Regions from separate parts of the Homo sapiens genome. Here regions 2, 3 and 4 are each linked to region 1. Evidence: promoter capture Hi-C in human tissues and cell types (Jung and others, 2019). All regions are on one chromosome and are shown on one strand. The core of a region is centred on a gene start or on the middle of the fragment in contact, and the rest is flanking DNA. Distances in the headings are between cores, read along the strand shown. Region 1 holds the start of SMAD9 (SMAD family member 9). Region 2 overlaps SUPT20H (SPT20 homolog, SAGA complex component). Region 3 has its middle 7.3 kb from the start of RFXAP. Region 4 overlaps RFXAP (regulatory factor X associated protein).

What was found. Contacts are between HindIII fragments. The study calls those that stand out against the background at their distance.
Region 2: a fragment that was not itself captured here is called in contact with the fragment with the promoter of SMAD9 in region 1 in 2 of the 25 tissues and cell types used here (adrenal gland and spleen).
Region 3: a fragment that was not itself captured here is called in contact with the fragment with the promoter of SMAD9 in region 1 in 2 of the 25 tissues and cell types used here (H1 embryonic stem cells and liver).
Region 4: a fragment that was not itself captured here is called in contact with the fragment with the promoter of SMAD9 in region 1 in 2 of the 25 tissues and cell types used here (bladder and thymus).

Annotation. Positions count from the first base shown.
Region 1 is chr13:36,918,854-36,921,592 of GRCh38, forward strand. It overlaps SMAD9 (SMAD family member 9), which reads right to left and starts at 1,385. Exons shown (of 7, transcript NM_001127217.3): 1 at 1,263-1,385. RefSeq lists silencers at 1,296-1,365, 1,476-1,525. The HindIII fragment of the contact is 20,741 bases long and covers 1-2,739 here.
Region 2 is chr13:37,039,572-37,042,310 of GRCh38, forward strand. SUPT20H (SPT20 homolog, SAGA complex component) reads right to left here. Exons shown (of 26, transcript NM_001014286.3): 8 at 1,005-1,121; 9 at 834-887. Among named protein-coding and RNA genes, the nearest start is that of SUPT20H, 19 kb to the right of the region's middle. The HindIII fragment of the contact is 4,386 bases long and covers 1-2,739 here.
Region 3 is chr13:36,810,558-36,813,296 of GRCh38, forward strand. No RefSeq gene overlaps it. Among named protein-coding and RNA genes, the nearest start is that of RFXAP, 7.3 kb to the right of the region's middle. The HindIII fragment of the contact is 5,306 bases long and covers 1-2,739 here.
Region 4 is chr13:36,826,559-36,829,297 of GRCh38, forward strand. RFXAP (regulatory factor X associated protein) reads left to right here. Exons shown (of 3, transcript NM_000538.4): 3 at 1,085-2,546. The coding sequence ends at 1,195. Among named protein-coding and RNA genes, the nearest start is that of RFXAP, 8.7 kb to the left of the region's middle. The HindIII fragment of the contact is 6,804 bases long and covers 1-2,739 here.

The DNA.
Region 1 (2,739 bases), core at 135-2,634:
AGACGGGTGCCACAAACGTTCCGCTCAGTTACTGCTTAGGAGGCAGCATTATTAAATGCCTCACGACTTAACGGTCAGCCTCCATGCTTCTTGCTAACCTACATTTCCAAAAGATCATCCGAGAAATCTGGCAAGCCACCGAAATGGTACTAGTAAACTGGATCCATCCAAAGCACTCCACAGTGCCCTGTGGGTGTGTTTCTCACTGTAAACTACTGGGTAAAGAATTTACATACAATTTTATCTCCAAACTCGATTTGTATCCTTTGTAGGTTAGTTCTCAGGAGTACCCACTCCAGCCCAGAAATAAGTCAACGTAGTATTTCCAAACTATCACTTCAAATGTCCACGGTCAAGGGCAGGAGGAGGAAGGAATAGTAACGGGAAAACTTGTCAGCGATTAGCCATCCATAAAAATGTTCTCCCAGCGCTCCTCCTTCCGATCACAAAGCTGGCGTCAGGCAGTCTCCTGTATCTGCTTCCCACCTCGCCCCCTCCCCTCTGCGGAGAGCTGGCACCGAGGGGCGGGCCAAGGAAAAGACAAACACCCCGGCTCCGACACAGTCCAAGCGCGAGCCCGGAGACACTTCAACAACATTCCTAACTTTTTTTCTCAGTTCGCATGCCTCAAAGGTAAACAAAGCAAAAAGCCTACGAAACAGAAGGCAAGTGAGGCCAATTCGGCGCTGGCGAGTTTAAAAGTGGCCCCCAAAGAGTCACAATGACGACCCCCGCCGCCCCCTCTGTCCGCTGTCCCCTATCTCCAGCTACAGCAAGCGACCCCTCAGGCGCCTATCCTGGTCCCTGCCCACGCCCCGGGCCCCAGCCCCGACCCGACCGCCGCCCCCGCCGCGGGTCGAACATCCCCTGACAGGTCCCGGGGCCCGCGGCGCGGGCGGATGCAGGCGCGAGGAAGGCGAGCTGCGCCGCGGCCAACTCCCCAGAGCAGTCCCCTCCGGCCCCGCGCCCACCCCACCCCACCCCACTCCACCCCAGACAGGCTCCACCAAAAAACCCGGGAACAACGACCGCCAAAAGCCAAGCCTCACGCCGAGGAGCCTCCCAGGCTGCCCCGAGGACGAACAACTTCGCCCTCCACTCAATGCGCTCACACGCACGCACACAAGCAGCGCGCGGCCGAGGAGGGCACGTCTTACCTGTCCCCGCCGTGCCACTCATCCCTCCCCCACCCAGGTCCGGCGCCCCCAACCCCGCCCCCGCCGTGGTCCCCCGGCCGCCCGCTCCGAGCGCCGCGCACTCACTGCCTGGCTGCGCGCGCCCAGCGCCTGCAGGGCCCGGCGGCGGCGGCGGGGACCGAGACAGCGGCTGCAGCAGCGGCGGCGGCGGCGGCGGCGGCGGCGGCCCCAGCCGGCGTCAGTCAGACTGGAGCCGCGAAGCCTCATCGCCCGTATTAGTGCGCCGACCTGGAAAGCGGCCAGGGAGCCCTGCTTGCGGCCCGCCCCCGCCCGCCGCCGCGCGCTCTGGCCGCTCCGGGAGCCGCAGAGGAGGGGGCTGCGCGGGCCCGGCGGGGGGCGGGAGCGAGACCGGCCCCACGGCCACGTGCGCGGAAACTCGCGGCGCGGGGGTGGCGGGGTAGTACTCCTCGCAGCGGCCTGCGGCTCGGTTCCCGCCTCTTCCCCACCCCCAGCCCCGCGCTGCCCTCTCGGTCCCCCTGCGCGACCCCAGGCTCGGCCCCTGCCCGGCCTGCCGGGGTGGCCCGGGGGTGGGGTGGGAGCCCTTTGTCTGCGTGGGTCGCCTCGCGTCTCTCTCTCCCACCCCACCTCTGAGATTTCTTGCCAGCACCTGGAGCCCGAAACCAGAAGAGTTGTCAGCCCAACAAGAATATAGGATCACCGGCCCATCAGTCTGGAGACCCTTCTGAGCTGCTGTTCCTCACATGTTTCTGGGCCCTGATAGTGACTCTCACTTGCCCTGTTTGTTCCTGATTTGCTTTTCGGAGTAAGGGGATCCTGTCCCCATGGACAGTGACAGAGCAACTGGGCCGCAATGGCATAGGCAGAAGAAAATCTAATCACTCTGGGGGTGAGTGGTGGTTAAAACGACTCATGTAATTATGTGGATTGTAATTTCCTTACACATATTTATTTGCTTAACAACCCAGCATGTGAGATATATTATCTAATCTAATAAAAGATACAAACTTATGGGCACACAGCAATGTTACTGTACAACTTTCTCGTCTCACGGCCTGGCTGTCCCCCAGGTAGCCTGCCTCTTAAAGTCACTGTGGACTCCTGGAACCCACTCAGAAACGCCACTTAGGAAGAACCACCTCTGATTCCCCATCAGCCCGTAGTTCCTCACAGAAAAGGCATTTGCTGCAGGGGTGAACGTGGAATAAAGCCACAGGGCAGTTTTCAGCTTGCTCCTGTGTGCAGGAAAGTCATACCTCCAGTTGGCCCCGATGGCGGCTCCGAAATGTAAAGCAAGGCCTTAAATTTAACTGCTTTTTCTAGTTCTCAAAGCACTGCACTTTCTTCATGGCAGATGCTATTTTTGCATTATTATACCGTTGTAGTTGAACGGTGATTTGTTTAAAACAACATTTGCAGCAGAACCTTAAATACCATGCCTTAACCTCAAAGTCTTCTTTCTACACTGGCCCAGATACCTCTGCACCCGGCTATGTGTTGGGTTTGAGATTGTCCTGGGTGAGAAACACCAGGAAACAGCGGGACCGGTAAGGGCTACAGATTATATATTAAGGATTAGGCTGGA
Region 2 (2,739 bases), core at 114-2,613, 120 kb after region 1:
GACTTCTGCACCACAATGCCTCTACTCATTCCTCTCATCAAAAAAGAGAAATTTTGTAAGAGTTTTGATGGGAAACCATTAGGTATGCACCTTACAGTCCAGATTTGGCTCCTTCTGACTTCTTTTTGTTTCCTAATCTTAAAAAAAAAAAGTTTAAAAAGTACCCATTTTTCTTCAGTTAATAATGTAGAAAAGATTGCATTGATATGGTTCAGTTCCCAGGACCCTCAGTTCTTCAGGGGTGGACTAAATAAATGGTTGATATCATTTACAAGCATCTTGAACTTGATGGAGCTTATATTGAGAAGAAAAGTTTATATTTTTTATTATTATCTTTTAATTCCAGTTTTCCACAAACTTTCTGAAGTCCCCTCATATAACACTGAGCCAGAACTGGAGGGGTTAACTGGTTATTCTCAGGGGTAAGAGAGTTCCCCTCATTTCAAGGCAACCAGTATAAATGGCAAAGAAAGATAGGCTAGGCTAGGGTTTAGAAACTTGAATTATTTGAAAAAAAAAACCAGTATCTATTTGTAACCATGGTAAAAACAAAACATTTTTCTTCTGTTTGAGAGGAGATAAAGAACTAAGTTTTATCTCATTGAATATATTAGGCCAGCTTGACCTTAAAATGATCTTAGGCAACTTGAGGGATTACTACACATATAAAGAGACCCTTAACTTCTAGATCTTATAAAGGAATACCAGCTTTTCACATAAAGCATCAAACTTAATTATTGAATAAAAATAAGCAGAAAATCACTTTTGCTTAATGATAATTTTTTTTCATCCTATATTTTGCCTGTTTGAGATTAAAAAACAAAACAACTAACCTGGGTCCATTTGTGGTTATCACTTGTTATTGAATGTACATCACAAATTAAAGTCTAGAAGAAATAAAAATTTAAAAAACTTATTAATCTATGCACAAACATATGAAGAATTCGATAAATAAAACTCCCAACTAAAATCTAAAATAGTATTTCTTAATTAAACATCCTTACCTGCATTGTTGGACGTAAGAGAATGTGCCGACTTTGGTAACCAGGAGATTTCATGTTACTGGACTGCCTGTAGTCACGTATTTCTGCTATGACACATCCGCAATGAAAAATATTAACCTGTTTGGGCAAAAATACGTAAACGTCATTTTTTTTTCCAAAAGCCTAAATAAGTGGGTTTATATCAAACATTTCGCATTCTTTACATTCATGCAACATTTCTGGCCACTCATGTATGTACTCTTCAGTAGATTTCCTTGGTAGATTTAACACTATGTAAACCTTTTCAGAGGAAGTATTTCATGTTCATCACTATGACACAAGAAGCAATTTAAAACTATTTAATAGTTTCTAATTATAGATTGACTTTGGCATCTACCAAGTCAACAGTTTGACTTTTGGCATTTACATACTATTATGTTACAGATCCTTGGAACTGCTGTTCTTCTGCAGCTCACAGGCTTACTGTTACATTTCACTAACTTTGTCATTACTATAAAGTTTATCATTGTTATAAATTGCCAACCAACCTTGCCAGTGTTTTAGCTTCTAGATATAACTTCTATATTTGCTCTGCTAAAATTTTCAGAAATATAATTTTGCCCTTAGCCTTTATTAATAAGAGGGAAGCTAAATATAAAATTCAAATGAAAAATAGTTTTTCAGGCTGGGTGCAGTAGCTCATGCCTGTAATCCCAGCTTTGGGAGGCCGAGGCGGGTGGATCACAAGGTCAGGAGATCGAGACCATCCTGGCTAACATGGTGAAACTGCGTCTCTACTAAAAATACAAAAAAATTAGCTGGGTGTGGTGGCGAGCGCCTGTAGTCCCAGCTACTCAGGAGGCTGAGGCAGGAGAATGGCATGAACCCAGGCGGTGGGGCTTGCAGTGAGCCGAGATTGGGCCACTGCATTCCAGCCTGGGTGACAGAACGAGACTCCACCTCAAAAAAAAAAAAAAAGAAAAATAGTTTTTCAGTCCTTTCTATGCTCAAATGTAAGAACTATTATCATCGAAGTCTTGCTAGTTATGACTTGCCATGGTCACTCATAGTATGTTTTTCACCCATTCAGAACTTTTAGTGGGTACTGTGGTCTCCATGTTTTGTCATTCTTATTGTCATTCTTTTAAATAAATATTTACTGAGCAACTACAATGCCTACTATGTGCTAGGCACTATCCAGGTACAGCTTCACAGATACAGTAGTCAGACAACATTTGCTCTCAGTTGTGGGAAGACAGGCAATAAACATGTAAACAGAACAAAGTAATTTTAGATAGTGATGAATTCTATAAAGGAAATCAAATAGGGAAGGGCTAATCTGGATTGTATGTGCAGATAGAAACCTTAGGTTTTACCTAAGATCTGAATCACAAGAAACGGCCAGACACTTCAGGGACAGATCATTCCAGACAGAGGGAATAACATATGAGAAGTTCTTACTGTAGGAACAAGCTTGGAGTGTTTTATTGTGGAAATGAGACAAGGATGGATGGAATGCAGCGAGTGAGGATGAGATCTAGAAGATGAAGACAAACAGGAAAGCAAAGGTTTTGTTCAGAGCACTGGGCACGATCATGTATCTTAAAGAGAGACTGGCATTTGCTGATGGACTGAATGTGGAAGGTAAGGACAGAGTCATCTGTTAGACTGAAGAGACTGGTGATAAAACTGGTTTGGGAGGTAAAATAAAGCTCTGTTTTTGTCATGTTAAATTTGAGGAACCTATTATATATCC
Region 3 (2,739 bases), core at 89-2,588, 110 kb before region 1:
TCATCTCCTGGCTGTTCTAAACAAAATCAGAACAGTATTTCTGAAATTCTGAGCACAGTCTCTTTTTTGTTCATGCATTATCTACAAACTGAGGAATGCAAGAAACATAAATAGAGGCTTAAAAATGAACTCTATGTTCATTTTTATTTTCCTAATATTCTTCCCACTTTCCTGGAAGCAAAAGATGAGTTTTTTTAAAATAAATTTTAATTAAATAAAATAGTGATACATGATATAATGTGTAATACAGATTGTCATAAACAAATTTCTCATATCAGAATTCTTCAATGTGATTCCTATGCTATAATAACAATGGTAAAGTTCTGTTTTGGTGAGAATTGGTACTCTGTGGACACCAAGCTTCATAGGTGATTGGAAAAGGATTGAAGAAAAGGTGATTGGCAAAAGAAAATTAGAATGGTTCTTTTCCTCAGCCCCCAACTCACAGCATAAATTACTTCTCAGGAAAACATGACGCTGTTTTATGGAAATAAGAAAAAAAGAAAAATAAGCTAGAAAAGGGGAAATGGAGTATAGAGTTGGAAATAGAGGAGAAAAGGCATAGCCCTTTGGTTCTAGAAAATAATTCTTAACTTTCATTAAAGTTAAATAAAAATTAACCATATATCATTTTCTTTACTAAAGGCAGAAGGCCAAGTCAGGGTTAAATTACTCGAATGTTGAGAAAGTGGAATTAAAGCAGTAGATTGAAATTGATTGGTCCCTACCAGCCTGCATCCCCCTTTAAGGGAAACTGCAGTGCCACAGCCCCTGTTCTATGTGAAAGGATTCCTCCTCCAATCAATGACTGACTGGATCAAGAATGGGCACCTTACCCAGGTGTAGACCATCCATGGCTTTTCCATGAGCTCCAACCAACCCAGCAATAGGAAGACAAATTAGGCAAAACAAAGTCTTACCATCTGGAGTCTGAAATGGAAACCCTGGAGAAATGGCACCAGTGAGCAGTGAGAATTAAGATGGAAAGGTCCTAAGGAACTGAAGGACATGAATCCCATTCATGGCCACTATATCTTAAAGTCCCAGCAAGAAACAGAAGATATAGATGGTTCAAAGAAAGAGACTTTAACCAAGACTGTTTGCAGAAATGTAAGCAGGGTTAAGAGAACACACAAAGGACGGTAAAGCCATCCAGAACGTAGCAGCAGCAGGAAGCCATTACTACCCGGGTATGAAGGAGCAGGGGGCAGAAATAGGGTTACTGGTGCTCAGCAAGACCTAGTAATGTGGAAGAGTGCCCCTCAGCAGGAGCTGTAGCCTCAGAGGGATATAGAGACTGCCAGAGAGGCAAAGTGGAGGAGAGAAGCAGAGTGCAGGCAGTATCCTCATCTCTCACTTTCCCCTTGCTCTGGTGGCCCACTTAATGAGTTAGTCAAACCCAGTCGGAATCCAGAGACCATGGGAATTCTGGTATGGTTCAGTCCAGCCTGCCTCCACCCCTAGCACAGAAAAGAACAGGGGACAGCAAGCAAAGTACATCTACAGGTCAAACAGAGACCAACCAGAAAGCCATGTGCAAGCCCAAGTTATGAAGGATCTGAAGAAAGCTGGTAGACAAAGGAAAACTGTCCAGAAAAAAGTAGGTGACCTGAGAGAAAGAGAGCTGGGGAGAGCAGCTGGTCCCTAGACCTGCCTCAATTCTGATGCCATTCTGTTCTAGTTCTGTCCACTCACTGCAATGCCCCACCCTGACCCCCAGAGCTTGAGGCCCCTTTAATAGGCCTTGCTTCCTTGTCATGAAAAATAAGCCAGATTATCAAAAAAGAATAAGCACTTTTTCATCTCACTGTTTCCCACTTAAAGAGACTACTCCTGGCAGGGCGCTGTGGCTCACGCCTGTAATCACTCCAGGACTTTGGGAGGCTGAGGTGAGTGGATCATGAGGTCAAGAGATCGAGCCCATCCTGGCCAACACAGTGAAACTCCGTGTCTACTAAAAATACAAAGATTAGTTGGGCATGGTGGCGTGCACCAGCTACTCAGGAGGCTGAAGCAGGAGAATCGCTTGAACCCAGGAGGCAGAGGTTGCAGTGAGCCGAGATCGCGCCACTGCACTCCAGCCTGGTGAGAGAGTGATATTCCGTCTCAAAAAAAAAGAGAGAGAGAGAGAAAGACTACTCCTTTGGTAATTGATAAGCACCATTTTCAAAAACACAAAAGAAGGAATGTGCATGGCTATAGGGAAATAGGAGGATTAGTAAGGAAATAAATAGAGGAGATGAGGAAGCCCATGCAGAATTTACACAATGCCTTGTCTTTCCAGTAAGTCTTTAAAGAGTAAACGGATGGAATCTAAATGAAATAATGGCAATAGTAATAATGCTAAAATTTTGCTTTGACAATAATCTGAGTTCCTACCACTTAAAAAATACCATATGTGCAAAATCTTACTGGTTGATGACAAATACACTATGTTTACGAATTCCTGAGCTAGGATATCTGTTTGTACATCTAAGTATACTAGATTACTTCTTAGTATGTTATAGATAATTCAGTGATTCTCAACCCTGATTGCATATTAGAATTACCTGGAGAGCTTTTTAATAATATGGATGCCTTGGCCCCTCGCCAGACCAATTGAATCAAAATCCCAAGTGACAGGCGCATAAAAGGTCATTACAGTATATTACATTCTAAACTTAGGAAAGAGCTTACAGATCATTTAGACCAACTTCATCATTAAGGAGGTTCAGGAAAGGCCACCCCAAGTTACCTTGT
Region 4 (2,739 bases), core at 90-2,589, 92 kb before region 1:
ATATGAAGACATTTACAGAATGTAAATCCTAAATATGGATAGAGTTAAACATAAAGGTATTGCCAGGAATATATTTCTCATAAATAGTAAAAAAGGTAGTTGAAACAGCCTAAATGTCCAACAGTGTCATAACAGCTAAGATGATTTTTAAATAAAACTGTTTAATAAATAGAAAATGTACTAAGATATAATACATATAATCTGAAAGTCAGTATTTAATGATAGTATGTTCACTTTATTCAGTTTATCTTTTTGCAGCTTATTGGGGCCAAAGATTTTTTTCTCTATAAATTTATGTAAGTATTTTATTATAAAAACCTATTACAGGAGACTGTGGCAGGATGATTGCTTGAGCCGAGGAGTTCAAGACTGCAGTGAGCTATGCTCACGCCACTGCACTCCAGCGTGGGGAACAGAGTGAGACCCTGTCTCTAATAATAATATGTTAATCATAGTCTGTTATATTTGTTATATTATTACAACTATATTTTAAAGTGATGAGTGTACAAAAAGGTATTGGATGTTTTAGAGCAGTTATATTTTTTCCTGAAATTTTGGTATATACCGATATATATGTACATATATATATATACACACCTATACACACAATTTTTAATTTCTTTATGAAGACTTAGTTGCCTAATGAGAAACTTGACTTCTAGCACTAGTTTGTATGTATGTACAAACTGGCATTTAGCTGCTATTTTCACATGTGGCCCCCTTTCATCTCCATTTTTTTTCTTGCTATAATCCTGGGTCAGTGCTACTTTTAGCTCTTTGTTCTTACATATTTCAAGAGAGTATATTTGCTGGCATATTAGAGAAGGTGTTTCCTTTTTACACAAAGTCACCAATAACAGACTTCACCCGTTATTTTTAGGTTTTAGTATTTTGATGTGTGACATCACATTATTTTTAGTTTGCAGCTTAGTTGCAGTGCATCCGATGTAAAAGTGCTTTTGATTCAGGCATATTCTTGTGAACATATTGTATCATATGTAGGGACACATCAGAGTAATTAGCATGAAAACAGTCTAATGACATAGATTAATGCTATTAATAATTTTTTTCTTTTCTTTCTAAGTCGTTACTAAGAAGTCCAGAAGTAGTGCAATTTTTACAGAAACAGCAACAGCTATTAAATCAGCAAGTTTTGGAGCAAAGACAACAGCAGTTTCCAGGAACATCAATGTGAGGGAACTTACCAAGAACATCTACATGGTTTTTTATCTTATTGTAATAGATGAGCATATTTTTTTACCAGACATAAATGGGGTAATAATCTATGCCTGTAGAACATAAACATTTTCCTGTAAATGTATGTGTGCATTTGGGGATAAGTAAGTATTGCACTTTGTGCATCTAATCTTTCAGATTACTGTGAGTTTGAAGAAGTCAGCTTATCTTTCCAAATAACATTTAATTATAATGTTTTTTAAAAAATATATTCCTCTTCAGTCATTGTTACTGAAGGTAATGAAGCAGTTACTTTCTGTGGAAGTCATAAAGTTAATAGATATTAATCTTGACTCATCTAGCTCAGTGGTTCTCATCAAGGGTCAATTTGATTGTCATAGTGACCTTGAAAACCACTGGCTTTTAGTGAGTGGCCAGGAATGCTAAATGTTCTGCAGTGTCAGGGGTAGTCCCACATACTAAAGATTGTCTCACCCGCAGTGCCAATAACACTCCTAAGAAATGTTGATGGCTATTTTGTGGTGCTAACATGTAGTTGGGGCACCTATAATTGGGTTCTCTTAATAACCTTTCTTTGCAGTTAAGACTGAAGCTGTCAAAGAGGTAAGCACATTTTATATAGACGTAAGGAAAGTGATTATTGTTTAATATCTGTGAATTTAGGATGTGCATCTCTTTTCAGAGGTGTGTTAGTAAAACCTGACGGATTAACTAAGCACACTGGGATGTGTCTCCTACAGTTGGCTTCTCTCTTTGATGTTACCTGTTAGTGCTGATCTCTTAAAGCAGACATTTCTTGTTTGTTGAATTTGTGAACAGTATAGATCTCAGCCCACCAATGCCAAGACAAAATTATTTTTCTTATACTTATTTTTTATTAAACAAAATGAAAAAGATCCTTTTCAAAAAGGTGATCCTGAAAATAAAACTAACACTCCAGTATTTTGTCATTGTTTTTCGCAATTGAGCTATCTGAAAACTGTTATTCCTAAGTAATGTTCAAAAATGATAAGTAATCTGGATACCTTTTTCTTATACTTTCTCCTAGGAAAACTTTAAAACTTTAAAAAGGCAAACCTACCAATAGGAATAACAAATTAAATGTCAAGAGAGTATATCCAATATTAGGATATAAATGTATGTGTCTCAAGTTTAACTCTACAAAAATTTGTTACTTGTTTTTTAAACTCTATATATAAAGTTCGACTTAATCATGGCTGTTCTAAGAAGTACTTATGGAGAGCAAGAACGTTTTTGTTCATTTCTTAATGTGTGTGTTTTTACTTGCATATCTGTTCAAAACACTTTTAACAAAATTAATTCATTAAAGTCCAGTTGTTGACCTTTGAGTTAGCTGATTTCTTTATTCTGTTCTTTAGTTTATTCTTACTAGATGCAGAGGAATTCATCTACTGTCTGTTATTAACTGTTAGTTTATTCTCATACTTACGATGTTGAGAGTTTTTTTGAAGCTTAAGTTACCCTTTATGGTGGAAAACATTAGCTTATGCTTCTTTAGATGGAATAATGGGAAAGGAGGGA